Regions from separate parts of the Homo sapiens genome. Here regions 1, 2, 3, 4, 6 and 7 are each linked to region 5. Evidence: promoter capture Hi-C in 16 types of primary human blood cells and fetal thymus (Javierre and others, 2016). All regions are on one chromosome and are shown on one strand. Each heading gives the region's core, a stretch centred on a gene start or on the middle of the fragment in contact. The rest is flanking DNA. Distances are from core to core; before and after follow the strand shown.

Region 1 (3,859 bases), core at 625-3,124, 670 kb before region 5:
GTTTGGATGAGGTCATAAGGGTGAGGCCATCATCATGGGATCAGTGCCCTTATAAAGAGATGCCACAGAGCTTGCTCCCTCTCTCTCTCTCTCAGCCATGTGAGAAAAAAGTGAGAAACCACTGTCTGCAAGCCAGGCAGGGCCCACGCCAGAACCTGACCATGCTGGTGTGACTTTCACCCTCCAGAACTTTCTGACTTTCACCCTCCAAAACTGCGAGAAATTTCTATTGTTGAAGCCACTCCATCCTTGGTACTTTTTTCTGGCAGCCCCAGCTAACCAAGTCACAGGGGAGGAGACATAGACCCCCCCAACACTTGATAGAAGGAGTGTCAAAGAATTCTCAGACATGTTTAAAAACCACCTGAACTAAAAAGGACATATAAACTCCACCTCTTGGATACAGAAAGACTCATGCCAGTGAGCCTGAAGCTGTGAAGTTTTCCAGGTATTTAATAGATGGTCAGTGGTAAAATTATTTTGTAATCCATTGAGTTTCTAAAATTATAGCTCCTAGAACTTTTCACACAGAAAGGAGAGATGGAGGTCAACTTGGCAGTCTCACCAGCAAAGCAACAGAGTAGATTCTCACTTATTTTTAAAATCCCATAACATAGCACTATGCCTGGCACATGGGAGGTGCTGCGTAAACATGTTATACCCTGACTCACTCAGCTCCCAATGCCTGTTTCCGTGGCAGCCTCAGAAACCCACGGAGAAGACTCTGGACTCCAAGACATCTATCCTATGTCTGGTATTGCTCTGCCTGCAGGAAACAGATGACACTGTGTGGGCAAGGTGTTCACCTGGTGACAGAGATGGGAGCTGGGGGCAGAGGCTGAGACTGTCTGGAAGCAGGTATTGGAGTTGACTTCCACTCTGAGGGGACAGTGTGGGTGTCTGTGAGGGGGTTGGCTGTGGCTGAGACACTGGGATTCATTTCAGATGTGGACGACAGGGCTCAGTGGGAATGGAACGCAGCCTAACCTCCAGGGCTGCTCCAGTCCCTCTGTGGCCGGGTCCTGGCCACGTGGTGGGTGTCAGCTACTCACTGAAATACTGATGGGGCACTGCTCCCAGGGTCCCCTCTAGCCAGCCAGAGTCTATAATGCAGGTAGAATGTCCACCAGCCCTTCAGGAGAGATGGGAAGGCAGCATTTGGAGGAGCCCCAGGGAGGGGGTGCCCTGGGACCTCAGGGGTGGTTGAGGAGCTGAAAGGAGGCCACGTTCCCCAGGGCAGCAGTGCACTGAGGAATGGACGAAAGGGCCATCAAGGTGCCCCGGTGCCAGAGAGGTGTTGGCCTGAGGGATTTGCTAACCGGGTGAGGAGTGGAAGGGCTACAGGGATGCTACCCAAGATGGAAGGGGAGGAAGTCCCCAGGACCAGGCTGTCTCCATGCAGACCCTCAAAAGCAAAGAACCAGCCCAAGTGATGACTGCTAACGTTTGTTAAGTGGTTACCATGCACCTGGCAGAAAGTGAGGGCCTTCCACCATCTAGCCGTTGTGGCCCAGCGATGGGAGGTGACTTCCCAGTCATTCATGAAATAATGCGTGGCTTCATCGCCAGCACCTCCGAGGTGGTGCTATCCCCATTCTGCTTCTCAGGAAACTAGGTGTATTTGTTTCCACCGCTGCTCTAACAAACTACCATAAACCCATGGCTTAAAACAGCAGACATGTATTCTGTCAGGGTTCTGGAGACCAAGAGCTCCAAATCAAGGCATCAGCAGGGCCATGCCCCCTCTCAAGGTTCCCAGGAAGAATCCTCCCTTGCCTCTTCTGAGATTCCGGTGGCTCCCAGCAATCCCTCGGCTCCTCGGCTTGTGGACGCATCGCTCCAGCCCCTCCTGCACACGGGCTTCCCCTCTGTGTGTCTCTGCGTCTCTTTCTGTCATCTTATAAATCACATTTGAAGACCCACCCAAATCCAGGATGAACTCAACTAATTATATCTGCAAAGACCTTATTTCCAAATACAGAAATTTGTCACATTCTGAGGTCCTGGGTGGAGATGGATTTTGAGAGTCACTATTCACCCTATTACACTGAGTCTTTGAGAGGTTTAAGAAATTACCTAAGTTTCCACAACAAATAAAAAGGTGGCTGAAATGGGGTTTGAATCCCCGGAGTAAAGCTGCCCCTGTAGCCCACAGTGGTGTCAGCAGCCCGAGGGCTGAACAGCTCTAACCTCTTCCCCCGCCGCCCAAGAAACTGCACTACCACCGCCATTTTGAGTCAGAGAGACAGAACCCAGTAGAGAACACAGGGCGGGTCTCAGAGAAGAACACTGCCTGGGATACAGGGCAGGTCTCAGAGCAGGGCCCAGGCTGGAACACAGAGCAGGTCTCCAAGAAGAACCCAGGCTGGAATACAGGGCAGGTCTCAGAGCAGGACCCAGGCTGGAACGCAGGGCAGGTCTCAGAGAAGAACCCAGGCTGGATCTCGGATCTGGGCCCAGGCTGGAACACAGGGTGGGTCTCAGAGCAGGGCCCAGGCTAGAATACGGGGCAGATCTTGGAGCAGGGCTCAGGCTGGAACATGGGGCAGATCTCAGAGAAGAACCCAGGCTGCGTCTCAGAGCAGGGCCCAGGCTGGAATGCAGGGCAGGTCTCAGAGCAGAGTCCTGGGGACAGCAGCACCAATGGCTCTTCCCAAGTGGCCTGAGTGAGCTGGGAGGGCTCTTTTAACTCTGCAAGCCTCGGGTCCGTCTTGAGGCTCATGGGAGATTCCGTACACCTCCTAGGCATCCCAAGAAGTGTTTTCCCCAGATATTTGTTTCTTCCTTAACGCTAGATTTGCTGCCACCCTCTAATTAATGGGATCTATCTTTCAAGAAAATTTCTCTTCAGTCTTCTCTCTGGACTCCCCACTTCCTCTCTGGCAGTCCCAAGCCATTCTAAATTAGATTTTCATATTCCTTCCCCAGATGTTTAATTCTCCTAATGAGCATTTTCTAGCTCAGGCCTGCACTGCTGTAGCCTGTAGGGTCCCTGAGGGGTGCCCATGGGGAAGGCGGTGCTCTTCAGGGCTTGGAGTGGGTTTTAATATTTAAATCTTCACAGCAATGCCGACACTAGATGGCAGTGGTTCCTAATTATTGGGGGTTCCAGGCAGGCTTGCCTTCTTCCTGTGCTGCCCAGGGAGGTCAGACCTCCCTGAGATGGGAAGAAGTGGGTCATTCCCACCCCACCAACCCCCTCCTGCAGACCCAGACCCAGAAAGCTCAGCCCGGGTGAGGAAGAAAGGAAAGCCCCAAGAGGAAAGATGTGAAGCAATGAACTTGACATGGGGCTGTTGATTTCCTCTCCAAGTGCCTCAGACAGATCCACCCCTGAGAGGCCCTTACAGAATGATCCTCTCCAAGTGCCTCAGACAGATCCACCCCTGAGAGGCCCTTACAGAATGATCCTCTCCAGGGGAGGCTCAGAAGCTGTAGCCATTGCCTGGCAAGATTTTAGGAGCCTCCCCTGCCTCACCCCCACCCCTTATCCCCCACAGGTAGGAAAGTCCTTGGGAAAGGCAACTCAGCAGTGTTCATCAAAAGCCCTCAAAATGTCATATGATCACTTTATATGTAGGAATTTGTTGTAAGATTAGAAGTGAATAAGTCAACAAGAATATATGTTTGGGAGGCCAAGGCAGGCAGATTGTTTGAGCTCAGGAGTTTGAGACCAGCCTGGACAACATGGCAAAACCCAGTCTCTACAAAAAATACAAAAGTTAGCCAGGTATGGTGGTGCAAGCCTGTAGTCCTAACCACTTGGGGGCTGAGGTGGGAAAATCACTTGAGCCCAGAAAGTCGAGGCTGCAGTGAGCTGAGATCACACCACTGCACTCTAGCCTGGGTGACAGAGTGA
Region 2 (4,034 bases), core at 735-3,234, 550 kb before region 5:
TACTTCTGGATTTCAAAATAAAATTTTATGGTTTAAAATAGATGTAAAGGTAGAAATTAACAGAAAGATGTTTTGTTTTTAATTTTGACATTCAAAAGGGGACTAGTAAACTGGAGACGTTTTTGTTGTGTTCTGGATTTGGGAGTATTTTTAAAAATAATTGTTTTAAATGTAAAATAAATAATAGGTAATTCCTAAAGCAACAGGGTTAGTGTTTCAGGAAGAAGTACTTTAGACTTCCACTGGGAAAAAATTAATTTTTCTTATTGGTTAGACTTTTGCAGCTCCAGAGATCGGTTGTCTGCCAAGAATCAGACCTTCCTGATGAGCTGCTTTATGGACGGGCAGGTTATCTGTATGCCTTACTGTACCTGAACACAGAGATAGGTCCAGGCACCGTGTGTGAGTCAGCTATTAAAGAGGTACTATGGGGTATGGGTAACTATGGGCGTCTCTACCATTCAAACCTATTTGCTAGCATTGAGTTGTATTAACAGCTGGACTTTACTTCTAGGTAGCATTACTTTTTTAAAGCAACTCATCAAAAGTAAGAAATAGTCCCTGCTTTTTTCTAGGAACATTAACAAAAAAAATCTGTACTCTCTTTCATCTTGTATTAATTTATCAGTTTTTACTGGAGCTAAACAGCAGCAGCTTCAGAAAGTTAGAATGTTTATTTATCTTTCGTGAGATGTCTCAGCTGGTAAGCATTTCAGGCTGGTATGAGTGGGGACCAGCTTCTTCTGTCTCATTCTGCCTTATCCTAGGGGCATACCCTTATTTGCAGGACCAAGGCTAGTTTAGCCCCTCAGCCTATGAAGGGAAAAGAGGAGGTGGAGGCAACGCAGCTTCCTTGTTAGGGACTCAGTCTCCAAGTTGCCCTCTTTACTTCTGCTCCCATCCCAGTGCCAGAACTTCATCAAGTGTCTGTGTTCAGCTGTCTCTAACTAGGGAGCCAGATGCCCAGCTAAAACTTGGAATACTTTCCCAAAAAGGATGAGAGGAGATAGACGTGAGGAAACAGTCATCCCAGACATGATATTCTGTTGATCTAACTGAAATCCTTCATGCCACAGCAGACCTCATATCATTAGCCTTTTATAAATAAAGCCAGTTCCTCCAGCCTTTCCTGATAGGTGTATGTGCTGCTCTTTTGGGAAAAATACTGCAGCTACGAAGCAACTAAGAAATCCAAAACAGTTTTATAAGAAGTTTTTCTAGATTTTTCGTTGACTTTTTATGCAAAGAATTTTTTATTTCTTAGACAGTATCTTTTCCTACTCTGACATTGGCTCCTGATTTCTTTTTGCCTGCATTTATTAATTTATAAAATAAATATAACTATATTAGCTGCTAACTGCTTAAAGACTTTTAGATTAAGGCTTCTGCCTCTCTCTCTATATATGTCATATATATATGACATACTGTTAATTAGACTACAACAGGGTACATATACAGTTTTAGATTTATGCTGTCTTGTTATCTCTGTAGGTAGTCAATGCTATTATTGAATCGGGTAAGACTTTGTCAAGGGAAGAAAGAAAAACGGAGCGCTGCCCGCTGTTGTACCAGTGGCACCGGAAGCAGTACGTTGGAGCAGCCCATGGCATGGCTGGAATTTACTATATGTTAATGCAGGTAGGTAAGAATACTCTTACACACTACAGTATATTTGATCAAACATGAAATGGGAAATGAATCCTGCATATAAACAAAGCAGTCTGGATTGAAATACCCTACTTTGAATCGCTGATGCGTAACTCTGCCACATAAACCACAGGCAGTGGATTTCTAAGAGTCCAGTGAGTTCCTGAGTACATTTGGTATGGAGTCTTTTTTTTTTTTTTTTTTTTTTTTTTCCAATTTTCTTTTTTTTTTTTTTTTGATCATTCTTGGGTGTTTCTCGCAGAGGGGGATTTGGCAGGGTCACAGGACAGTAGTGGAGGGAAGGTCAGCAGATAAGTGAACAAAGGTCTCTGGTTTTCCTAGGCAGAGGACCCTGCGGCCCTCTGCAGTGTTTGTGTCCCTGGGTACTTGAGATTAGGGAGTGGTGATGACTCTTAACGAGCATGCTGCCTTCAAGCATCTTGTTTAACAAAGCACATCTTGCACCACCCTTAATCCATTTAACCCTGAGTGGACACAGCACATGTTTCAGAGAGCACAGGGTTGGGGGTAAGGTCACAGATCAACAGGATCCCAAGGCAGAAGAATTTTTCTTAGTACAGAACAAAATGAAAAGTCTCCCATGTCTACCTCTTTCTACACAGACATGGCAACCATCCGATTTCTCAATCTTTTCCCCACCTTTCCCCCCTTTCTATTCCACAAAACCGCCATTGTCATCATGGCCCGTTCTCAATGAGCTGTTGAGTACACCTCCCAGACGGGGTGGTGGCCGGGCAGAGGGGCTCCTCACTTCCCAGTAGGGGCGGCCGGGCAGAGGCGCCCCTCACCTCCCGGACGGGGCGGCTGGCCGGGCAGAGGGGCTCCTCACTTCCCAGTAGGGGCGGCCAGGCAGAGGCGCCCCTCACCTCCCGGACGGGGCGGCTGGCCGGGCGGGGGGCTGACCCCCCCGCCTCCCTCCCGGACGGGGCGGCTGGCCGGGCGGGGGGCTGACCTCCCCGCCTCCCTCCCCGGACGGGGCGGCTGGCCGGGCAGAGGGGCTCCTTACTTCCCAGTAGGGGCGGCCAGGCAGAGGCGCCCCTCACCTCCCGGACGGGGCGGCTGGCCGGGCGGGGGGCTGACCCCACCACCTCCCTCCCGGACGGGGCGGCTGGCCGGGCAGAGGGGCTCCTCTCCTCCCAGTAGGGGCGGCCGGGCAGAGGCGCCCCCCACCTCCCGGATGGGGCGGCTTGCCGGGCGGGGGGCTGACCCCCCCACATCCTTCCCGGACGGGGCGGCTGGCCAGGCGGGGGATGACCCCCCCACCTCCCTCCCGGATGGGGCGGCTGGCTGGGCGGGGGGCTAACCCCCCCACCTCCCTTCCGGACGGGGCGGCTGGCCGGGCGGGGGGCTGACCCCCACCTCCCTCCCAGACGGGGTGGCTGCCGGGCGGAGACGCTCCTCACTTCTCAGACGGGGCGGTTGCCGGGCGGAGGGTCTCCTCACTTCTCAGACGGGGCGGCCGGGCAGAGACGCTCCTCACATCCCAGACGGGGCGGCAGGGCAGAGGCGCTCCCCACATCTCAGACGATGGGCGGCCTGGCAGAGACGCTCCTCACTTCCTAGATGGGATGGCGGCTGGGCAGAGATGCTCCTCACTTTCCAGACTGGGCAGCCAGGCAGAGAGGCTCCTCACATCCCAGACGATGGGCGGCCAGGCAGAGACGCTCCTCACTTCCCAGACGGGGTGGCGGCCGGGCAGAGGCTGCAATCTCGGCACTTTGGGGGGCCAAGGCAGGCAGCTGGGAGGTGGAGGTTGTAGCGAGCCGAGATCACGCCACTGCACTCCAGCCTGGGCACCATTGAACACTGAGTGAGTGAACGCGACTCCGTCTGCCATCCCGGCACCTCGGGAGGCCGAGGCTGGCGGATCACTCGCGGTTAGGAGCTGGAGACCAGCCTGGCCAACACAGCGAAACCCCGTCTCCACCAAAAAAATACGAAAACCAGTCAGGCATGGCGGCGCGCGCCTGCAATCGCAGGCACTCGGCAGGCTGAGGCAGGAGAATCAGGCAGGGAGGTTGCAGTGAGCCGAGATGGCAGCAGTACAGTCCAGCTTTGGCTCGGCATCAGGGGGAGACCGTGGAAAGAGAGGGAGAGGGAGAGGGAGAGGAGGGAGAGGGAGAGGAGGAGCCTTTCCAATTTTCTTTCGGTATGGAGTCTTAAAGCAGATTAGTTATCTGTTCCCCACACTTTTCTGGGTTTTTTTTGTTTGTTTGTTGTTTTTTTTTTTTTTTTTTTTGAGACAGAGTCTCACTCTGTCGCCCAGGCTGGAGTGCAGTGGTGTGATCTCGGCTCACTGCAACCTCCACCTCCCAGGTTCCGGTGATTCTCCTGCCTCAGCCACCCGAGCAGCTGGGACTACAGGC
Region 3 (3,982 bases), core at 286-2,785, 610 kb before region 5:
GGCAGGAGAATCACTTGAACCCAGGAGGTGGAGGTTGCAGTGAGCCTAGATCGCACCACTGCACTCCAGCCTGGGCAAAAGAGAGAGACTCCGACTCAAAAAAAAAAAAAAAAAAAAAGTATACAAGCTTAGAAAATACAGTTAGAGCCAACCTGCCAGGCATCCTTGCATACTTCAGACCAGGGATGCTTGTCTGCATGCTTTGTTTGGGTCCATCTCTAGAGTATTCTTCTGTCTGCAGAGATTGGTGTAGGCACCTTGGGATGACAAATCATTGAGCGGGGCTTTTCCATGTGTCCCAGAGTTAGTGACAAAGTCCAAAGCCGTGGACGGAAAGACACTCAGTACCCCCACTACAATTAGAGAAAGATAGCAGCCCCAAAGCCTTGGATTGAAGAAAGAGGCTCAACCACACCCCTCCACCTGCATCACCAGAAGGAGTAGAATGAGGAAGGGTGGGGGTGGGGGGTCACTGAGTTATCCTGTGGTTTTGCCCAGTTTGGTAGTAAGAGACTTCTCTTTTCTCCTTCTATGAAAAAGAAAGAGGTGCTTCTCTCACCCACTAACTCAAAGCCAAGAGAGGAGAGGGCAGCTAGAGGAATCATTTATGGAGACTGTAGGTGCCTGGAAGAAGGACTGGCCTCTCTCTACCTGGATGATCCTTTCTGCAAGCGGGAAGTTCACTAGAGGAACCCAGGCCAGCATGATGAGAAGGGCCCGCTGTGGGGTGTGCCCAAGAGCAGGAGGGATTTGCTTCTTCATCTGTCCCAGGTCTTGGAAGCTCTGAGGGCATAAGCCACCGCAGTGTGAAGAGCAGATGCTGGAGGAAGGCACAGGGCCAGACAGGGCAAGCCCCACACTGAAGAGATGTTGTAGATGTGGATTGCTGTGTGCCTAAAGGGAGACACAGCAGCCCCTTTCTGAGGGGATTCTCTGTGATAAAGGGTAGGTCAGGGGGAAGCTGAACACTGTCCCTCCCACCAAAACACATACGCCATCTACATATACACAGCATAACAGAGAAGCCACCAACCAGCACCAAACTGAAACAATCCAAGCAAGAGTAGGCCCAGAAGGGGAGGGCAGAGGGTAATAAAGGAACAGATGGTAGCCCTGTTCCTACTACAGCGATTGCATCAAATATGACTGCAGCAGATTTCCTTCAGGCTTTTCTTTTTAAATAAATTTTTGTTGAAGGGAAACACATACAGAAAGTGCATAAATGGTAAGATCACAGTCCAACGAACCATCACAAAGTGAGCACAGCCCTGCACATAAATGACTGAATGTTACCAAAGCCCCAGACACCCCTCATGCCCCTCCCAGTCACTGCTCCTCTCTAGAAGGTGACCACTATCCTGACTTCTAATAACAAAGATGAGTTTGGACTACTTCGAACCTTGCATGACTGGAATCATATGGTAGGTTCTCTTTTGACTCTCCCTTCTTTCATTCAATGTGACTGTTTTCAGATTCATCTGTGCTGTGTGTAGAGTACTTCATTTATTTTTAGTTGTTTTTTATTTTTATTTTTTAATTTTAATTTTTTTTTTTTTTGAGATGGAGTCTCGCTCTGTCACCCAGGCTGCAGTGCAGTGGTACGATCTCAGATCACTGCAACCTCTGCCTCCCGGGTTCAAGCGATTCTCCTGCCTCAGCCTCCCAAGTAGCTGGGACTACAGGCGTGCACCACCACACCTGGCTAATTTTTTGTATTTTTAGTAGAGATGGGGTTTCACCATGTTAGCCAGGATGGTCTCAATCTCCTGACCTGCTGATCCACCCACCTCTGCCTCCCGAAGGGCTGGGGATACAGCCGTGAGCCACCATGCCTGGCCTATTTATTATTTACACACCATTGCATGGTGTATGCTTTCTATTATCTGCTATAACATATTACTACAACCTTAGCTGCTTAAAACAATGGAGATTTATTTTCTCACAGTTCTGGAGGCCAGAAATGCTTAGTCAGTATCACTGGGCCCTAACCAGGGTCCCAGCAGGGCCACAGTTGTCCAGAGGCTTTAAGAGAGAGTCCTCACCTCCAGGAGCTTCTGGGAGCTGCCAGCAGCCCTTGTCTTGTGGCCACTCAACCTCTGCTTCCTTGGCCACATTGCCACCTCCTCTTCTGTATTAAATCTCCTTCCGGCTCCCTCTTATAAGGACACGTGATTGCATTTAGGGCATTCAGGGCCCCTCTGGTCGTCTCCTTCTCTCAGGATCTTTGGCTCAATCGCAGCTGTAAAGACCCTATGACTGAGATTTAGAGTGAAAGTTTAACAGGCCAAAGAAAAAAAGCTCTCCCTGCTGCAGAGAGAGAGGTCCTGGAGAAATGTGTTGCCACTTCCATGGTGAAATGCAGATTTTATAGATGAGCTTGAGAAGGCGTGTTTAATTTACATAGGGCATGAAAGATTGGTTGAACCAGGTGTGCCATTTGCATAGTCCGTGAAGAAGTTGGCTGCCCCACCCCAATATTTTATTATGCACATAGGTTTTTTAACATGGCTGGTGCCATGTTGCCTGGTTTTTGTTTTGTTTTTTTGAGACACAGTTTCGCTCTTGTTGCCCACGATGAAGTGCAATGGCACGATCTAGGCTCATCGCAACCTCCGCCTCCCGGGTTCAAGCAATTCTCCTGCCTCAGCCTCCTGAGTAGCTGGGATTACAGGCAAGTGCCACCACGCCCGGCTAATTTTGTATTTTTAGTAGAGACGGGCTTTCTCCATGTTGGTCAGGCTGGTCTTAAACTCCCAACCTCAGGTGATCCACCTGCCTCGACCTCCCAAAGTGCTGGGATTACAGGCATGAGCCACGGCGCCTGGCCGTTGCCTAGTTTTTGTGGTAACAAACAAAAAAAAGGCGGGGGGGGGGGGAATGGAGCCTCCATGTTGAACACACCCAGCCCCCAAGTCTATTGGCAAGCTGCTAGCCTTTATCCATGCAAGCTTTCTGCTTCCCTATCTTAGTGTGCCCAAAATAGGGAAAGGAATATGCTCATTAAGGTCCACTGTTTTTACTGGGACTCATTGTATTTATGTGGAGTTTGGTGATTATTCAGGAAGCTCCCCCTCTGTTGTCGAAGTGCTTATTTATGTTTTATAGCCCAATCTTCCAGACTGCTCTTTGTTAGAAAAAAAGTAATTTCTTTAAACTGTGTGTGGTTAAAAAGAAAGTAATTTCTTTTTTTTTTTTTTTTTTTTTTTTTTTGAGACGGAGTCTGGCTCTGTCGCCCAGGCTGGAGTGCAGTGGCGCAATCTTGGCTCACTGCAAGCTCCGCCTCCCGGGTTCACGCCATTCTCCTGCCTCAGCCTCCCGAGTAACTGGGACTACAGGCGCCCGCCACCACGCCCCGCTAAGTTTTTTTTAATTTTAGTAGAGACGGGGTTTCATCGTGTTAGCCAGGATGGTCTTGATCTCCTCACCTCGTGATCCGCCCGCCTCGGCATCCCAAAGTGCTGGGATTACAGGCGTGAGCCACTGCGCCCAGCCAAAGAAAGTAATTTCTGAGCTGCTTTTTGTTAAAAGGAAAGTTTTTGCCGGGGACTCTTGCACCCTATCAACCTAAATAATTTCTATCTTCTGTATAGGAGTCCAGGGGTCAGGGCAGAGGCGCAGGTGGTGCGACGCCACGGAGTTGGTCCCCATGGCCGTGAGCCAGCCCCAGCGGCACAGCCGCCCTGTCCCCAGCGGCATCTAGGTGATGGCCAACTCCAGGCCGCTCTCCAGCTGCTTGGCCTGGCACCTCAGCTCTGCCAGCTCCCGGAAGCAACAGGCCACCAAGCGGCCCCGGGCTCCCGTGGCAGTGAGCCCTCTACTCTGCTCTCAAAAACTGATGCCGCCAAGGAGCCCGCCATGGCCAGCCCTGCTCAAAGCCAGGGCCAGCCCCGGGAGCCAAGCCGCCAGGCAGCCTTCCTCCAGGGAGGGTCTGGAGGCTGAGGGGGGGCGGCCTGCGGGTGACCAAGGAGATAGCCATGCAGCG
Region 4 (3,818 bases), core at 818-3,317, 690 kb before region 5:
CTTCAGTGCTGAAAATAAAGAAGGAGTTTTACTAAGGACCAAACAAGATAATGAATGTGAAACTGCTCCACGAACCCCAAAGAATTATGCACATAGATGCGATCATTAAGATGCGAAGCCATCGAGTTACCACCTGGCATGCTTAAACTGTAAAGAGTGGGTCAAAGTAAACTGAATTGGAAAATCCAAAGTTATGCAGAAAAACAATAAAGAGGTCTTACGTAGCAATACCGAACTTATGTCAGGCACTATTTCTCAAAACACAACTCCACTGAGATGCTCCAAGGAAAGAAAGGATTTTGTGGGCAAAAGCTTGATGCCCCTCTAGGGCACTCACAATGCTCGTCAGCACACAGAGCTACAAATAGTTCAGATTTTGCCACCCAATTTGTTGCCAAAAACATTCAATTTCCAGATCTGCTTTGGATTTCAGAATTGCAGATTCAAAACATTGTAAACCCTGGATTAAAACCCATTAAAAGTTTCCTGTCTGAGTTGCTCCTATGTCTCTCGTCTCTTCAGAAGAATTTATCTTTTTCTTTTTGACAATCATTCTTTCATAAGAATTGGTCTTTCAACCTACTTTTAGTTCACCTAGTTGTTGGAAATTTAGTAGAAAAAATAACCTTGCCTTTTAGGGTTGATTTAGGTTAAAATGTCTAAGGTATATAAAGTGCTTATCATGTAACAAGGCACACGAGGGTTTATTACGTGTGATACACCTGTGGTGGAAGGGGTTTCTTGTGGCCTCAGGTCATGCAGGAGGGATTCCACCCCACAACTGCTCCAAAAAAAGCACCCATGCCACCACCTCACACCAATATTCTGAACCCCACGATAGTGACCTAACAAGTGTAAATAATAGTGAAAATCACAGGACAGACTAGTTGAACTCAGGACTGACCTAGAACATATGATATGCCAGATGACATGAGAGATGTAGATAGACGACATGAGAAAATGAGATCAATTGTCTAATAGTTGATTGATCCTTCAATGCCAGATTTTTATCTGCCATATAATTCTTACTGATTATATAGGCTGAAAGGCAGAGGAGGGATGATGATTCTATCCAATGAATATGGAGAATGGCTCCAAATTTTAACTCTCTAAAACATCACCATGTGCTGTGTCTTTTCCTACAAATCAGGATCTTTTTTCAACCAGTACATACCTCCTTGACCTGACAACACTTAATATAGGCAAAAAAAAAAAAAAAAAAAACTGTTCCCAAGTTGAGTATAATCATATCTGTAATTATATCCATAATCACAAGGATAACCACTGTTCCCAAATTAGGTATAGTCATGTAATAGCAGGCCCAGTTCTGGGCTTTCTATGCCTTTTATCTGTTTGTTGATCCTTATGCCTGTGCCACATTGTCTTGATCACTGCAGCTTTATTGGCTTTCTATAAGTTTTTTGTTTGTTTGTTTTTGAGACAGAGTTTCGCTCTGTCGCCCAGGCTGGAGTGCAGTGGCGCGATCTCCACTCACTGCAAGCTCTGCCTCCCGGGTTCACACCATTCTCCTGCCTCAGCCTCCTGAGTAGCTGGGACTACAGGCGCTCGCCACCACGCCTGGCTAATTTTTTGTATTTTTAGTAGAGACGGGGTTTCACCACGTTAGCCAGGATGGTCTCGATCTCCTGACCTCGTGATCCACCCTCCTTGGCCTCCCAAAGTGCTGGGATTACAGGTGTGAGCCACCGCGCCCGGCCGGCTTTCTATAAGTTTTGAAAGCTGGCAATGTAAGCCTGCCAACTTTTTTTTCCCCTTTTTCAAGATGGCTTTGCAGATTCTAGGTGCTTTGCATTTCCATATAGATTTTAAAAAATCATTTTGTCAATTCCCACAAAAAGTCCTGCTGGGCTTTCACGGAATGTATACACCTATTTGGGAAGAACTGCTATCTTAATAATAGTGACTCTTATAAGCCATAAACATGGTATATATTTCCATTTACTTAAGTTTTCTTCAATATTTTCACCACCATTGTGTAGTTTTCAGTATAGAGGTCTTACACATTTTTGTTGATTTATTGCAAAACATTGCATGTTTCTGTTCTTACAGTAAATATAATTTTTAAAATTTCCTTTTCTAATTCTGTACTGTTAGCATACTAAATTTACATCGATTTTTGCATAATAACCATATAGACTGCAACTTTTTATTAGCTCTAGTGGTCATTTTGTAGATTCCTTAGAATTTTCTTTTTAAGTTAATCATCTTTTTATTGGGGAAAAAAAACTAGCATTTACAACTCGGAATGGAAGTAAACTGTAATTTGTTGAACGGTAATGTTGATGACTGTGCTGAAGCCCACAGCCACAGCTTACTCTGCTGGCTCAAAGTCATGGTTCAGAAGGTTTTAAAAGCAGAGTCCAAAGATGCTCCCTTGGTAAAGGTTTTTTGTTAAAAATGTGTGTGAACAGTGACAGCCGTTTCACTCTAGAACAATGCAGACAACGCTAAATCAACATACGTGGGCATGCCACCAGGGTATGTCATCGTCACCATGGGTCACAGCACACAGAAGTACAAGATGACCATCCCGCTAGTGGGGCTACGTCTCAACAGTTTATCCTTCACCCCATTTTTCTGCACATCATCCTAAGATAAACCAATTTTAAATGTTCGTTTTCAGTAAACCAGTTATGACAATTTATACTAAACAAATTGAACCAGAATCCATTTGAATAGGTTTTGGATTTGTTTTCTCCTTTTTTTTTTTTTTTTTTTAAATACAAATGGCTGACTGCTCTCAGTCGTCAGGCTGCATGCATGAAAAACTGGCCGGCCCAAACAGTGTATTAATCATGACTAAATGGAACTTTGAGGAGTCCTTATTATTAAGGTAGTACATGTACTTATATTGTAAAACTGATGTGTAGCTTGGTCTTTAGGGGACAGGACCACCAACAAATACATGCAGATTTTGTGTGTTTGGATAGAAGGTACTTTTGACATTCAGTTTTGCTATACAGAAACAGAATGAATCTGTTGGGCATGGTGGCTCACGCCTGTAATCCCAGCATTTTAGGAAGCTGAGGTGGGCATATCACTTGACTCCAGGAGTTTGAGACCAGCCTCACCAACATAGCAAAACCCCGTCTCTACTAAAATACACAAAGATTAGCTGAAAGTAGTGGCTCACGCCTGTAATCCCAGCTAATTGGGAGGCTGAGGTATGAGAATTGCTTGAACTCAGGAAGCAAAGGTTGCAGTAAGCCAAGATTACACCAATGCACTCCAGCCTGGGTGACAGAGCAAGATTCTGTCTTTAAGAAAAAAAAAGAAAGAAAGAAACAGAAACAAAAAATTAGAAACTTTTTTCTTTTTTCTTTTTTTTTTTTTTTTGCAAAAGGTAAGTAAAAGATTCCATTTGATTCTTCTAGAACAGGGAAAAGGGGTTGGAAGTAGGTCTTCATTTTGCAGTCATCATCTGTATTAATTCTTCATAATCAACTTGTCTGTCTCCATCAATATCTGCTTCTGTCATCATTTCATCTACTTCTTCATCTATTAGTTTTTCTCCTAAGTTTGTCATGACATGACGTAGTTCTGCTGCACTGATGTAACCTTTGCCACTATCGTCAAAGACTGGAATACCTCACGATTTCTTCTTCACTATATGTGTCTTTCATTTTTCTAGCCATCATGGTCAAAAATTCGAGGAATTAAATGGTGTCATTGCCATCAGAATCCACTTCATTGATCATGTCCTGCAATTCAGATTCTGCTGGGTTCTGACCCAGTGACCTCATGATGGTTCCAAGTTCCTTTGTTGTGATAGTGCCATTACTATCTTTATAGGACAG
Region 5 (4,015 bases), core at 747-3,246:
AATAAGATTAAAAGGATATGGTTTTTCCTATCCTCGAATACAAAATTGTATACAAACATATAAAAATGAAGGCCAGGCACGGTGGCTCACGCCTGTAATCCCAACACTTTGGGAGGCCGAGGCGGGCGGATCATTAGGTCACAAGATGGAGACCATCCTGGCTAACGCGGTGAAACTCCATCTCTACTAAAAATACAAGAAAAATTAGCCGGGCGTGGTGGCGGGTGCCTGTAGTCCCAGCCACCCGGGATGCTGAGGCAGGAGAATGGCGTAAACCCAGGAGGCAGAGCTTGCAGTGAGCCGAGATTGTGAGCGAGACTCCGTCTGAAAAAAAAAAAAAAATCTAATTGTATAGAATATTGTTACAACCACACAGAAGAAAAAAAAAGAATCCCAAGAAATGTTGAACACAGTGCTGTCATTGTACACTCTAAGGACAAAAAGAACCACAAAAAATAATCTCACGCATCACTTAGAAAGTTTGTTTTTAGTCGGGATATTGTTAGTACAACTCCAAAAGCATATAGTGTATACTATAGGATTTAGCATTAATCATTGATGTTGTCGGGGTAGGGACCAGAGTTCTAACTGTGGAAGAAAGGAGATAAAAATACGGAACTGGTGAAGCAAAAGAAGAAACCCACTGGTGGCTCATGCCTGTAATCCCAGCACTTTGGGAAGCCGAGACGGGCGGATCACGAGGTCAGGAGATCGAGACCATCCTGGCTTACACGGTGAAACCCCGTCTCCACTAAAAAAAATACAAAAAATTAGCCGGCCTGGTGGCAGGCGCCTGTAGTCCCAGCTACTCGGAAGGCTGAGGCAGGAGAATGGCGTGAACCCGGGAGGCGGAGCTTGCAGTGAGCCGAGATCGCGCCAGTGCACTCCAGCCTGGGCGACAGAGACAGCCTCCGTCCCAAAAAAGAAAGAAACCCACTGCTGTTTAAAGGTAGGTGTGTGTGTGCGTGTGTGTATGTTTCAATGTATCGATAGCTACATCTGCTGAAATAGCCTACAGGCAGGAAAATCCCAGTAGCAAGTTGCTCACCTAGCACTCAGAGCTTTGTTGCTAAGTACCACTCCCCACTGATATTTTTCGTTTGAAAAACTTCTGATACAATAACTGGTCAGGGAAAGTATAGGTAAATCTGGACCAGCCAGGCACAGTGGCTCATGCCTGTAATCCCAGAACTTTGGGAGTCCGAAATAGGTGGATCACTTGAGGCCAAGAGTTCAAGAACAGCCTGGCCAACATGGTGAAATCCCGTCTCTACTAAAAATAAAAAAAATTAGCTGGACGTGGTGCCAGATGCCTGTAGTCCCAGCTACTCAGGAGGCTGAGGCAGGAGAATCCCTTAAACCCAGGAGGCAGAGGTTGCAGTGAGTCAAGATCATGCCACTGCACTCCAGCCTGGGCAACAAGAGTGAGACCCTGTCTCAAAAAAAAAAAAAAAAAAAACACTTTTAGGCCAGGCACGGTGGCTCACGCCTGTAATTCCAACACTTTGAAAGGCCAAAGTGGTTGGATCACTTAAGGCCAGGAGTTCGAGACCAGCCTGGCCAACATGTGAAACCCTGTCTCTACTAAAAATACAAAAATTAGCTGGGCATGGTGGTGCACGCCTGTAATCCCAGCTACTTGGGAGGTTGAGGCAGAAGAATCGCTTGAACCCGGGAGGCAGAGGTTGCAGTGAGCAGAGATCGCGCCACTGCACACCAGCCTGGGCGACAGAGCGAGACTCCGTCTCAAAAAAAAAAAAAAAAAAAAGAAACAAAACAAAAGAATGAAAGAAAAGTCCGAAACCTCCTGCGCCACTGTCCACTAGCTGCGCGCGTTAGGAAACCAGAGGTCAGCGCCCCCGACCCCGCCACCGCCGCGGGTCCCTTTAAGGGAGAGTGGGCGGGGTCCTGCCTTTAACTCCGCCCACGGCTAAGGAGATGCACGGCCTACGAGAGGGGTAGTGTGGGACTGAGCCAATGCGTACGGCGTGACGCCATCCCGCTGCGACCGGCGCTCCCCGGGGCAGGTGGCTGCATAGTCTTGGCGGAGGTGAGTCTCGTGGTGGAGGTGAGGGCAGGCTCCGGGGTATTGCTGCCGGGGGAGGATTTGCTGGGGACCCAAGGCACCCTCGCGTGAGAGCCCTGAGAGCGAATCGCTTCGTCTGACCTCGGGGTTGTCTGGGGCGAGGGCACGAATCACCCCAACCTTTCCGAAGCCTGGTGGAATGGCTTGTGAACTGATCTCAAAAGCAGCCCAAGTCATCCGTCGCTGGGCCGGGGAGGGGGACACCGCGGCGGCCCCGCCGAGTGCTACCTGGGCACTGAGCCTGTGGGGAGAGGCGACCCAGCGGGGTGGAGAGAGATAAGGGACCAGTAACGTCCAGCGTTTGTCCGTGGTATTGAGCGTTCTGTGGGTCAAATTCTCAAAGCACTCCTGCGAAATAGGCCTGCCCATTTTGCAGAAGGGGAACGTGAGGCTTGGCGAAGTTAAAGTTACCGCTTTGTAAGCGCTGTAAAGATGAGAGGTTGGGTAGTGGGGAACGTGTAAGCATCTCTGAAATGGTGATTCAAGCCGGGCGCGGTGGCTCACGCCTCTTAATCCCAGCACTTTGGGAGGCTTGAGGCGGGCGGATCACCTGAGGTCAGGAGTTCGAGACCAGTCTGGCCAACATGGTGAAACTCTGTCTTTACTAAAAATACAAAAATTAGCTCGGCGTGGTGGTGCGGGCCTGTAGTCCCGGCTACTCGGGAGGCTGAGGGAGAAGAATCGCTTGAACCCGGGAGGCGGAGGTTGCAGTGAGCCGAGATCGCGCCACTTCACTCCAGACTGGGCGAAAGAACTAAACTTCATCTAAAGAAAAATACATATGGCCGGGCGCGGTGGCTCACGCCTGTAATCCTAGCACTCTGGGAGGCCGAGGCGGGCGGATCACGAGGTCAGGAGATCAAGACCATCCTGGCTAACACGGTGAAACTCCATCTCTACTAAAAATACAAAAAAATTAGCCGGGCGTTGTGGCGGGCGCCTGTAGTCCCAGCTGCTCGGGAGGCTGAGGCAGGAGAATGGCGTGAACCCAGGAGGCGGCGTTTGCAGTGAGCCAAGATCGCACCACCGCACTCCAGCCTGGGCGACAGAGAGAGACTACATCTAAAAAAAAACAAAACAAAACTGTTTCTGGGTGGAGGGGGGAACGAAAAAGAAAAAAACTGTTTCTGGACTAACCTGGACAGTTCTTGTGACAAAATTCATGTGGCATCATAACCACCAGAATATGAGACTTTGGAATTTGCTTTTCAGGTGACCAAAGCCACGTAATGTCCGTAGTTCGCTCATCCGTCCATGCCAGATGGATTGTGGGGAAGGTGATTGGGACAAAAATGCAAAAGACTGCTAAAGTGAGAGTGACCAGGCTTGTTCTGGATCCCTATTTATTAAAGGTGAGAAACATTCTTGTTTCCGGGTGGCTTTGGTAAATCACCACCATGTCCTGGGTCCTAAGCAAAAAAACATTTATCTCTCAGTAAAGATGTCTTGTCTCTCATCTGCTTTGAGCCAGGCATTTTGCTGGTCTGTAGGTATAACACGGTTTACACATTCCAAGAAAACAGTTAATGTCAATCCACTCTAACTGCTGTAGTCATTCTGTATGCAAAGTACTGGCCGGATGAGGTGGCTCACACCTGTAATCCCAGCACTTTGGGAGGCCGATGCGGTTGGATCACCTGAGATCAGGAGTTCGAGACCAGTCTGGCCAACGTGGTGAAACCCCGTCTCTACTAAAAATACAAAAATTAGCTGGGCATAGTGGTGCGCACCTGTAATCCTAGCTACTCTGGAGGCTGAGGCAGGAGAATCTCTTGAAGCCGGGAGGCGGAGGTTGCAATGAGCCACAATTGTACCATTGCACTCCATCCTGGACAAGAGCAAAACTCTGCCTACCATGCACAATTCACAATAGGGTTTGTGCTCCTATAGGAATCTAATGCCGCTGCTGATCTGACAGGAGGTGGAGCG
Region 6 (4,077 bases), core at 274-2,773, 630 kb before region 5:
CAAAGAAATCAGAGAGGACACAAACAAATGGAAAAACATTCCATGTTCATGGATAGGAAGAATCAATATGGTGAAAATGGCCATACTGCCCAAAGCAATTTATAGATTCAATGCTATCCCCATTAAACTACCATTGACATTCTTCACAGAATTAGAAGAAAACTATTTTAAAATCCATATGGACCTAAAAAAAAAGAGCCTGAATAGTGAAGACAATCCTAAGCAAAAAGAACAAAGCTGGAGGCATCACACTACCTGACTTCAAACTACACTACAAGTCTCCAGTAACCAAAACAGCATGGTACTGGTACAAGAACAGACACATAGACCAATGGAACAGAATAGAGAACCCAGAAATAAGACCACATACCTACAACCAGCTGATCTTCAACAAACCTGACAAAAACAAGCAATGGGGAAAGGATTCCCTATTCAGTAAGTGGTGCTGGCAGAATTGGCTAGCCATATGCAGAAAATTGAAACTGGATCCCTTCCTTACACTATATACAAAAATTAACTCAAGATGGATTAAAGACTTACGTGCAAAACCCAAGACTATAAAAATCCTAGAAGAAAATCTAGGCAATACCATTTGGGACATAGGCACAGGCAAAGATTTCATGACAAAAATGCCAAATGCAATTAAATGAAAGCAAAAATTGACAAATGGGATCTAATTAAACTAAAGAGCTTCTGCACAGCAAAAGAAACTATCATCAGAGTGAACAGACAACCTACAGAGTGGGAGAAAATTTTTGCAATCTATCCATCTGACAAAGGTCTAATATTCAGAGTCTACAAGGAACTTAAACAAACGTATAAGAAAAAAACAAACAGCTCCATTACAAAGTGGGCAAAGGACATGAACAGACACTTCTTAAAAGAAGATATTCATGCGGCCAACAAACATAAAAAAAAGCTCAACATCACTGATAATTCAAGAAATGAAAATCAAAACCACAACGAGATACCATCTCACACCAGCCAAAATGGCTATTATTAAAAAGCCAAAAAAAAAAAAAAAAACACAGATACTGACAAGGTTGTAGAGAAAAAGGGATGCTTTTACACTCTTGGTGGCATGTAAATTATTTCAACCTATGTGGAAGACAGTGTGGTGATTCCTCAAAGACCTAGAGACAGAAATACCATTTGACCCAATAATCCCATTACTGGGTATATACCCAAAGAAATATAAATCATTTTACTATAAAGACATATGTATGTTTATTGCAGCACTATTCACAATAGCAAAGACATGGAATCAACCCAAATACCCATCAATGATAGACTGGATTAAAAAAAATGTGGTACATATATACCATGGAATACTATGCAGCCATTAAAAGGAATGAGATCATGTCCTTTGCAGGGATATGACTGGAGCTGGAGGCCATTATCCTCAGCCAACTAATGCAGGAACAGAAAATCAAATACCCCATGTTCTTACTTATAAGTGGGAGCTGAATGATGAGAACACATGGATACATGGAGGGGAAAAACACACACTGAAGCCTGTTGGAGAGTGGGGGGTGGGAGGAGGGAGAGCATCAGGAAGAATAGCTAATGGATGCCAGGCTTAATACCTAGGCGATGGGATGATCTGTGCAGCAAACCACCATGGCACATGTTTACCTATGTATGAACTTGCACATCCTACACATGTACCTCTGAACTTACAATAAATAAGTAAATAAATTTTTAAAGCATTAAAAAATAAAATAAAATAAAAAGATAAGGGCACTTTTTTACAATGTAGTCATGTTACCAATATCACACCTTAGAAAGAATTAATTTCCTCAGTAGCATCAAATATCCAATCAGTATTTAGGTGACCAATTATCTATAAATGTCATAAATATTTTTAAATTTGTTTGAATTAGGGTCCAAATAAGGTTCACATGTTCAGATTGGTTAATATGTCTATTAAATCTATAAGGTTCCCCTTCATATTGTTTTTCTTTGACATTTACTTATTGAAGAAACCAAGTCTTTCATGGTGTCATGTTCACCTTAGTATGGATTTATCTGATTGAATCACTGAGGTGTCATTTAACATATTTCTCTGTCTTCTGTTATTTTCTGCAAATTGGTAATTGAAGACTTGATCCACCTTTTTGCAAACTTCTTCATAGGTGTTGCTGTGTACTTCCAGGAGGAACATATAATGTAGGACTCTCTCTTTCTCTTTCTCTCTCTCTCTCTCTCTCTCTCTCTATATATATATATATATATGAAGTTATCTACCATTAATATCCAAAGCCTAGCTATCTTAATTCATTACTGGCATTACTGGTCATGAAAAGGTAACATTCTAATCCAGTCTTTCCTTTTTCTTTCTCTGTCGCCCAGGCTGGCGTGCAGTGGCATGATCTCAGTTCACTACAAACTCCGCTTCCCAGGTTCAGGCGATTCTCCCACCTCAGCCTCCCAAGTAGCTGGGATTACAGGTACATGTGCCACCACACCCAGCTAATTTTTGTATTTTTAGTAGGGACAGGGTTTTACCATGTTGTCCAGGCTGGTCTCGAACTCCTGACCTCAGGTGACCCACCTACCTCAGCCTCCCAAAGTGTTGGGATCATAGGAGTGAGCCACCGTGCCTGGCCTCATTTTTCATCTATTAGCTGACATACATCCACAAAAAGAAAATGTTCTCTTTTGCTGTCTGGGTTGCCCATTGCTGTAGTACACAGAACGAAGTTAAGTTAAAGGTTTGATTCTTTCATTTATGTACCACTTTTTAACGTGCCACTTTTCAAAAAAACGAGTTGATTCACTAGCATTCTCCAATAGTAATTAAGTTTTTTGTTTGTTTGTTTTTGTTTTTTGAGACAGCATCTTGCGATCTCGGCTCACTGCAACCTCTGCCTCCTGGGTTCAAGCAATTCTCCTGCCTCAGCCTCCCGAGTAGCTGGGATTACAGGCATCCGCCACGATGCTCAGCATTTTTTTTCTTTTTTTTTTTTTGTATTTTTAGTAGAGATGGGGTTTCACCATGTTGGCCAGCCTGCTATCCAACTTCTGACCTCAGGTGATCCGCCTGCCTCGGCCTCCCAAAGTGCTGGGATTACAGGGGTGAGCCACCGCACCCAGCCAGTTTCTTTTTCAATGTTGTCAAGACCATCAATTTAAACATATTTAATAGATGAAGGAGACATAAAATTAGAAAGATATAGAATACTTAAAACTTAATTAACATTTTCTCCTGTTTCTTGGGACAGAGGAAAAAAACATAATTAACAAGCTTGCATCAATAATTGAAGAAAATACATTTTTAATTGAAAAATAATTCACATACCATAAAATTCATGCTTTTAAAAATGTTTTTTATGTATTCAGAAAGTTGTGCTATCCAATTCCAGAACATTTTGCAACTCCCAAAAGAAACCCATACCCATTAGCAGTCATTCTCTGTTCCCTTCTCACCCCACCCGCACCCTGCCCCTGGCAATCACCGATCTATTAATACTTTCTGTTTCTATGGATTTGCCTAAAAAATACATTCTTTTTAAGTACATTTGTAACATCTGAGAAAATGTAAACTAAGTCTGTTTCTTTAAATGTAAAGGAAATAAAAGCCAGAAAGCAAATTCCAACAACATTCAAAGGATTGATATTATATCATTCACATTATTTGACAAAAATACAAATAAATCTAAAACAAATAACAAATAAAATTATGCCACAAAATAATAAAATAATACCACATTGGAAGATGAACAATACATTTATTTGACTCACGGATTAGAGACCATGGATCATAATGCCGATATCTATACTATGTAAGATATTCCCTCCTTTGTAGTACCTATTTAAACCTAAATTTTAAAATATTAAATGGCAACCTGAAGGTATTCAAGAGCATTTTAAAATCCTGTTGTGGAGTGTGAAAGGAAGAGAGGAAGAAAGGAAGCAGGGCCACTGGTCTAAAGAGTCCTTGAGAAGGCTGCTGGGGCTGGCCATGCTCAAGGAGATGGTGCTCACCTGCGGCCAGGTGGGCAGCAGGGAGAGGTGACACGTGGCAGAGCTGGAGTTTCAGAACAATGGCCATGCTGTGAGTCCTGGCACTGTCCA
Region 7 (3,687 bases), core at 487-2,986, 530 kb before region 5:
TGCCACTTTTTCCACAAGTTCTGGTTGTTCTGCATCTGCCAACACTTGATGTTGAAAGTCTTTTTAATTTTAATTATTTTGGTGGGTATTTCATTGTGGTTTTATTTGTATCTTCCTGATTGACCAGGGTTGATTAATGTTGCATGTGCTCATGGGCCAATTGTGTATCTTCCTTTGTTGACTGTCTCTTCATATCTTCTTCTTATTATTATTATTTTTTGAGACAGGGTCTTGCACTGTCACCCAGGCTGGAGTGCAGTGGTGGATCTTGGCTCACTGTAGCCTCGACCTTCAGGGCTCAGGTGATCCTCCCACTTCAACCTTCCAAGTAGCTGGGGACTACAGGCACGTGCCACCACACCTGGCTAAATCTTTTTATTTTTGTAGGGGTCTTGTTTTTTGCCCAGGCTGGTTTCGAACTCGTGGACTCAAGCAATCTTCCTGTCTTGGTCTCCCAAAGTGCTGGAATTATAGGTGTGAGCCACTGTGCCCAGCCTGTCTCTTCGTGTGTTTTACCTACATTGTTTTATTTTATTTTATTTTTGTCTTTTTGCTATTTTTGAAAGAATTCTTTATATGTTCTGGTTAAAGTCCCTCTGTCAGATATATATCGTACAAATAATTTCTCCCTGTCTGTAGTTTGCCTAATCATATTCTTTATGGTATCTTTTGACTAATAGAGTTTTAAATTTTGATAAAATCTATTTTTCAATGTTTTCTTTTTATGATAATTACTGTCTGTGTTTTGTCTAAGAAACCTTATCTACCCTCAGGTTATATAGATAATACTCTCCTTTAATCTTTATTGTTTTAGATTTTACCTTTAGGCCTGTGATTTATCTCAAATTAAGTTTTGTATATTACATGAGGTAACAAACGAGGTGGTTTTTTTTTTTTTTTTTTTTTTTTTTTGGAGACAGAGTCTCACTCTGTCGCCCAGGCTGGAGTGCAGTGGCACGATCTCTGCTCACTACAAGCTCCGCCTCCCAGGTTCACACCATTGTCCTGCTTCAGCCTCCCGAGTAGCTGGGACTACAGGCGCCCGTCACCACGCCTGGCTAATTTTTTGTATTTTTAGTAGAGATGGGGTTTCACCGTGTTAGCCGGGATGGTCTCTATCTCCTAACCTCATGATCTGCCCGCCTCGGCCTCCCAAAGTGCTGGGATTACAGGCGTGAGCCACCGTGCCCAGCCTGAGGTGTTTTTTTTTAACCATAGGGATATCTGATTGTTCCCATACCTTTTGTGGAAAAGACATTTATTTTTCCCATTTGATTGATTTTGGTTCCTCTATCAAAAATCAAATGACCTAATAAGCCTGGGTCTGTTTCTGGACTCTATTCAGTTACTTTGGCCTGTTTACCTACATGATATTACCACGTTGTTTTTCTTATTCTGCATTTATTGTAAGTTTTGAGATCAGGTAACTTAAGACCTCACTTTGTTCTTTTTCAGAATCACTTTGAATATTCCAAGTCCTTTGTATTTTCATATAAGTTTTAGAGTCCATTTGTCAGCTTCTAAAAATGGAGCCTATTGGAGTTATGAGTCAGAGTGCATTGAATCATTGAATCTCTAGATCCACTTGGGTAGAACTAACTGACATCTTTTTTTTTGAGATGGAGTCTTGCTTGGTCGCCCAGGCTGGAGTAGGTGTGATCTTGGCTCACTGCAACCTCCGCCTCCCAGGTTCAAGCAATTCTCCTGCCTCAGCCTCCTGAGTAGCTGGGATTACAGGTGCCCACCACCATACCCGGCTAGTTTTTGTATTTTTAGTAGAGACGGGGGTTTCACCATGTTCGCCAGGCTGGTCTCAAACTCCTGAGCTCAAGTGATCTGCCCGCCTTGGCCTCCCAAAGTGCTAGGATTACAGGCATGAGCCACTGTGCCTGGCCAGAACTGACATCTTAATAATGTTGAGTCCTTCTGCTCGCAAATGTGGTATATCTCTCCATTTATATTTTCTTTAATTTCTGTCAATAGTGCTTTATAGTTTTTGCTCTACAGGTCTTAACACATCTTCTGTTAAATTTATTCCTAGATATGTTATTTATTTACATTTTCCAATTATGTATTGCCAGTATATAGAAATACAATTGCGTTTTTTTTTTTGGAGACATAGAGTCTCACTCTGTTACCCAGGCTGAAGTGCAGTGGTGTGATCACGGCTCACTGCAGCCTCTACCTCCCCAGGCTCAAGATATCCTCCTGACTTAGCTGAGTAGCTGGGATTACAGGTGTGCACCACCATGCCTGGCTAATTTTTGTATTTTTTTGTAGAGATGGGGTTTCGCCATATTGACCAGGCTGGTCTCAAACTCCCAAGTTCAAGGGTTCTACCCACCTCGGCCTCCCAAAGTGCTGGGATTACAGGCTTGAGCCACTGTAACTGGCCACAGCTGCTTTTTGTATATTGACTTTATATTCTGTGCTAAATTCACGTATCAGTTCTGGTAGCTTTTTATACATTACTTAGGATTTTCTGTGTACACATATTGTATCTGTGAGTTTTCTTCTTCCTTTCCAACCTCTGTGCCTTTTATTTCCTTTACCTCTTTTATTACATTGGTTAGGAGCTATAGTATAATATTGAATAGAAGTGGTCAGAGTGGACATCTTTGCTTTATTCACAATCATAGAAAAAAATATTAAATATTTCCCCATCAAATATACTTTTAACTGTTTTTCTTAGATGGCTTTTATCAGATTGAAGAAGTTTCCTTTTATTACTGGTTATCATGAAGGGATGTTGAATTTTGTCATTTTTTTTTCCTGGATTTATTCAAACGCTCCTATGGTTTTCCTCTTTTGTTTTATTAATATGGTGATTTTACATTGATTGGTTTTTAAAAGTTGAGTCAACCTTGCATTCCTAGTATAAACCTCACTTGGGCATGATTTTTATCCTTTTCTTTTTATTAATATTGCTACATTTGGTCTGCTAATATTTTGTTAAAGATTTTTATGTTTCTTAGTACATATTTTCTTTTTCTATAAAATCTTTGTTTTTATTAGGAATCAGGTATCAGGATTATGCTGGTCACGTACATGAGTTGGAAAGTGTTTTCTCTTATTTTCAGAAAGATTTTGTGTACAATTGGTGTTATTACTTGCTTAAATGTTTGTGGGAAAATTTTTTATTATGAATTCAATTTCATTAATAGAATCATTTTGCATCAGTTTTGTTAATTGTGTTTTTCAATATGTTTTCTCATTTTATCTAAGTTGTCAAATTTATTGGCATAATGTTATTCATACCTCTTTTTTTTAATGTTTAGTAAGGTCTGAAGTGATAGTTTCTCTTTTGTTCTTTTCCTTTTTTTTTTTTTTTTTTGGAGATAGAATCTTGCTGTTTCTCCCAGGCTGGAGTGCAGTGGCACGATCTTGGCTCACTGCAACCTCCGCCTCCCGGGTTCAGGCAATTCTCCTGCTGCAGCCTTCCATGTAGTCGCGATTACAGACACGAGGTACCACGCCTGACTAATTTTTGTGTTTTTAGTAGAGACAGGATTTCACCATGTAGGCCAGGCTGGTCTCGAACTCCTGACCTCAGGTGATCCGCCTGCTTCGGCCTCCCAAAGTGCTGGGATTACAGGTGTGAGCCACCACTCTGGCCTCTCTTTTATTCTTGATATTAGTAATTTATGTTTTCTCTCTCTCATCAGTCTAGATAGCAGCTGTGTCAAA

The links. The method cuts DNA at HindIII sites, captures the fragments that hold promoters and counts their contacts. A CHiCAGO score of 5 or more calls a contact.
Region 1: a fragment that was not itself captured here is called in contact with the fragment with the promoter of MRPS17 in region 5 in 4 of 17 cell types (fetal thymus, naive CD8 T cells, M1 macrophages and 1 more); the score reaches 6.2 in fetal thymus.
Region 2: a contact is called between a fragment that was not itself captured here and the fragment with the promoter of MRPS17 in region 5, in 1 of 17 cell types (naive CD8 T cells). The highest score is 7.2, in naive CD8 T cells.
Region 3: a contact is called between a fragment that was not itself captured here and the fragment with the promoter of MRPS17 in region 5, in 1 of 17 cell types (naive CD8 T cells). The highest score is 5.8, in naive CD8 T cells.
Region 4: a fragment that was not itself captured here is called in contact with the fragment with the promoter of MRPS17 in region 5 in 1 of 17 cell types (naive CD8 T cells); the score reaches 5.4 in naive CD8 T cells.
Region 6: a fragment that was not itself captured here is called in contact with the fragment with the promoter of MRPS17 in region 5 in 1 of 17 cell types (total CD4 T cells); the score reaches 5.4 in total CD4 T cells.
Region 7: a fragment that was not itself captured here is called in contact with the fragment with the promoter of MRPS17 in region 5 in 9 of 17 cell types (fetal thymus, naive B cells, naive CD4 T cells and 6 more); the score reaches 8.9 in fetal thymus.

The regions. Positions count from the first base shown.
Region 1 is chr7:55,277,046-55,280,904 of GRCh38, forward strand. No RefSeq gene overlaps it. Among named protein-coding and RNA genes, the nearest start is that of ELDR, 23 kb to the left of the region's middle. The HindIII fragment of the contact is 8,247 bases long and covers 1-3,859 here.
Region 2 is chr7:55,399,683-55,403,716 of GRCh38, forward strand. It overlaps LANCL2 (LanC like glutathione S-transferase 2), which reads left to right. Exons shown (of 9, transcript NM_018697.4): 4 at 275-422; 5 at 1,492-1,638. Among named protein-coding and RNA genes, the nearest start is that of LANCL2, 36 kb to the left of the region's middle. RefSeq lists an enhancer at 2,752-3,739. The HindIII fragment of the contact is 5,332 bases long and covers 1-4,034 here.
Region 3 is chr7:55,338,729-55,342,710 of GRCh38, forward strand. It overlaps the pseudogene LOC100129276. Among named protein-coding and RNA genes, the nearest start is that of LANCL2, 25 kb to the right of the region's middle. The HindIII fragment of the contact is 2,821 bases long and covers 126-2,946 here.
Region 4 is chr7:55,256,385-55,260,202 of GRCh38, forward strand. It overlaps the pseudogene CALM1P2. Among named protein-coding and RNA genes, the nearest start is that of ELDR, 2.7 kb to the left of the region's middle. The HindIII fragment of the contact is 3,514 bases long and covers 311-3,818 here.
Region 5 is chr7:55,949,881-55,953,895 of GRCh38, forward strand. It overlaps MRPS17 (mitochondrial ribosomal protein S17), which reads left to right and starts at 1,997. Exons shown (of 3, transcript NM_015969.3): 1 at 1,997-2,050; 2 at 3,299-3,438. The coding sequence starts at 3,316. RefSeq lists an enhancer at 2,050-2,109. The HindIII fragment of the contact is 16,512 bases long and covers 1-4,015 here.
Region 6 is chr7:55,321,010-55,325,086 of GRCh38, forward strand. No RefSeq gene overlaps it. Among named protein-coding and RNA genes, the nearest start is that of LANCL2, 42 kb to the right of the region's middle. The HindIII fragment of the contact is 3,444 bases long and covers 1-3,245 here.
Region 7 is chr7:55,416,085-55,419,771 of GRCh38, forward strand. All of the region lies in intron 6 of LANCL2 (LanC like glutathione S-transferase 2), which reads left to right. Among named protein-coding and RNA genes, the nearest start is that of LANCL2, 53 kb to the left of the region's middle. The HindIII fragment of the contact is 4,751 bases long and covers 1-3,687 here.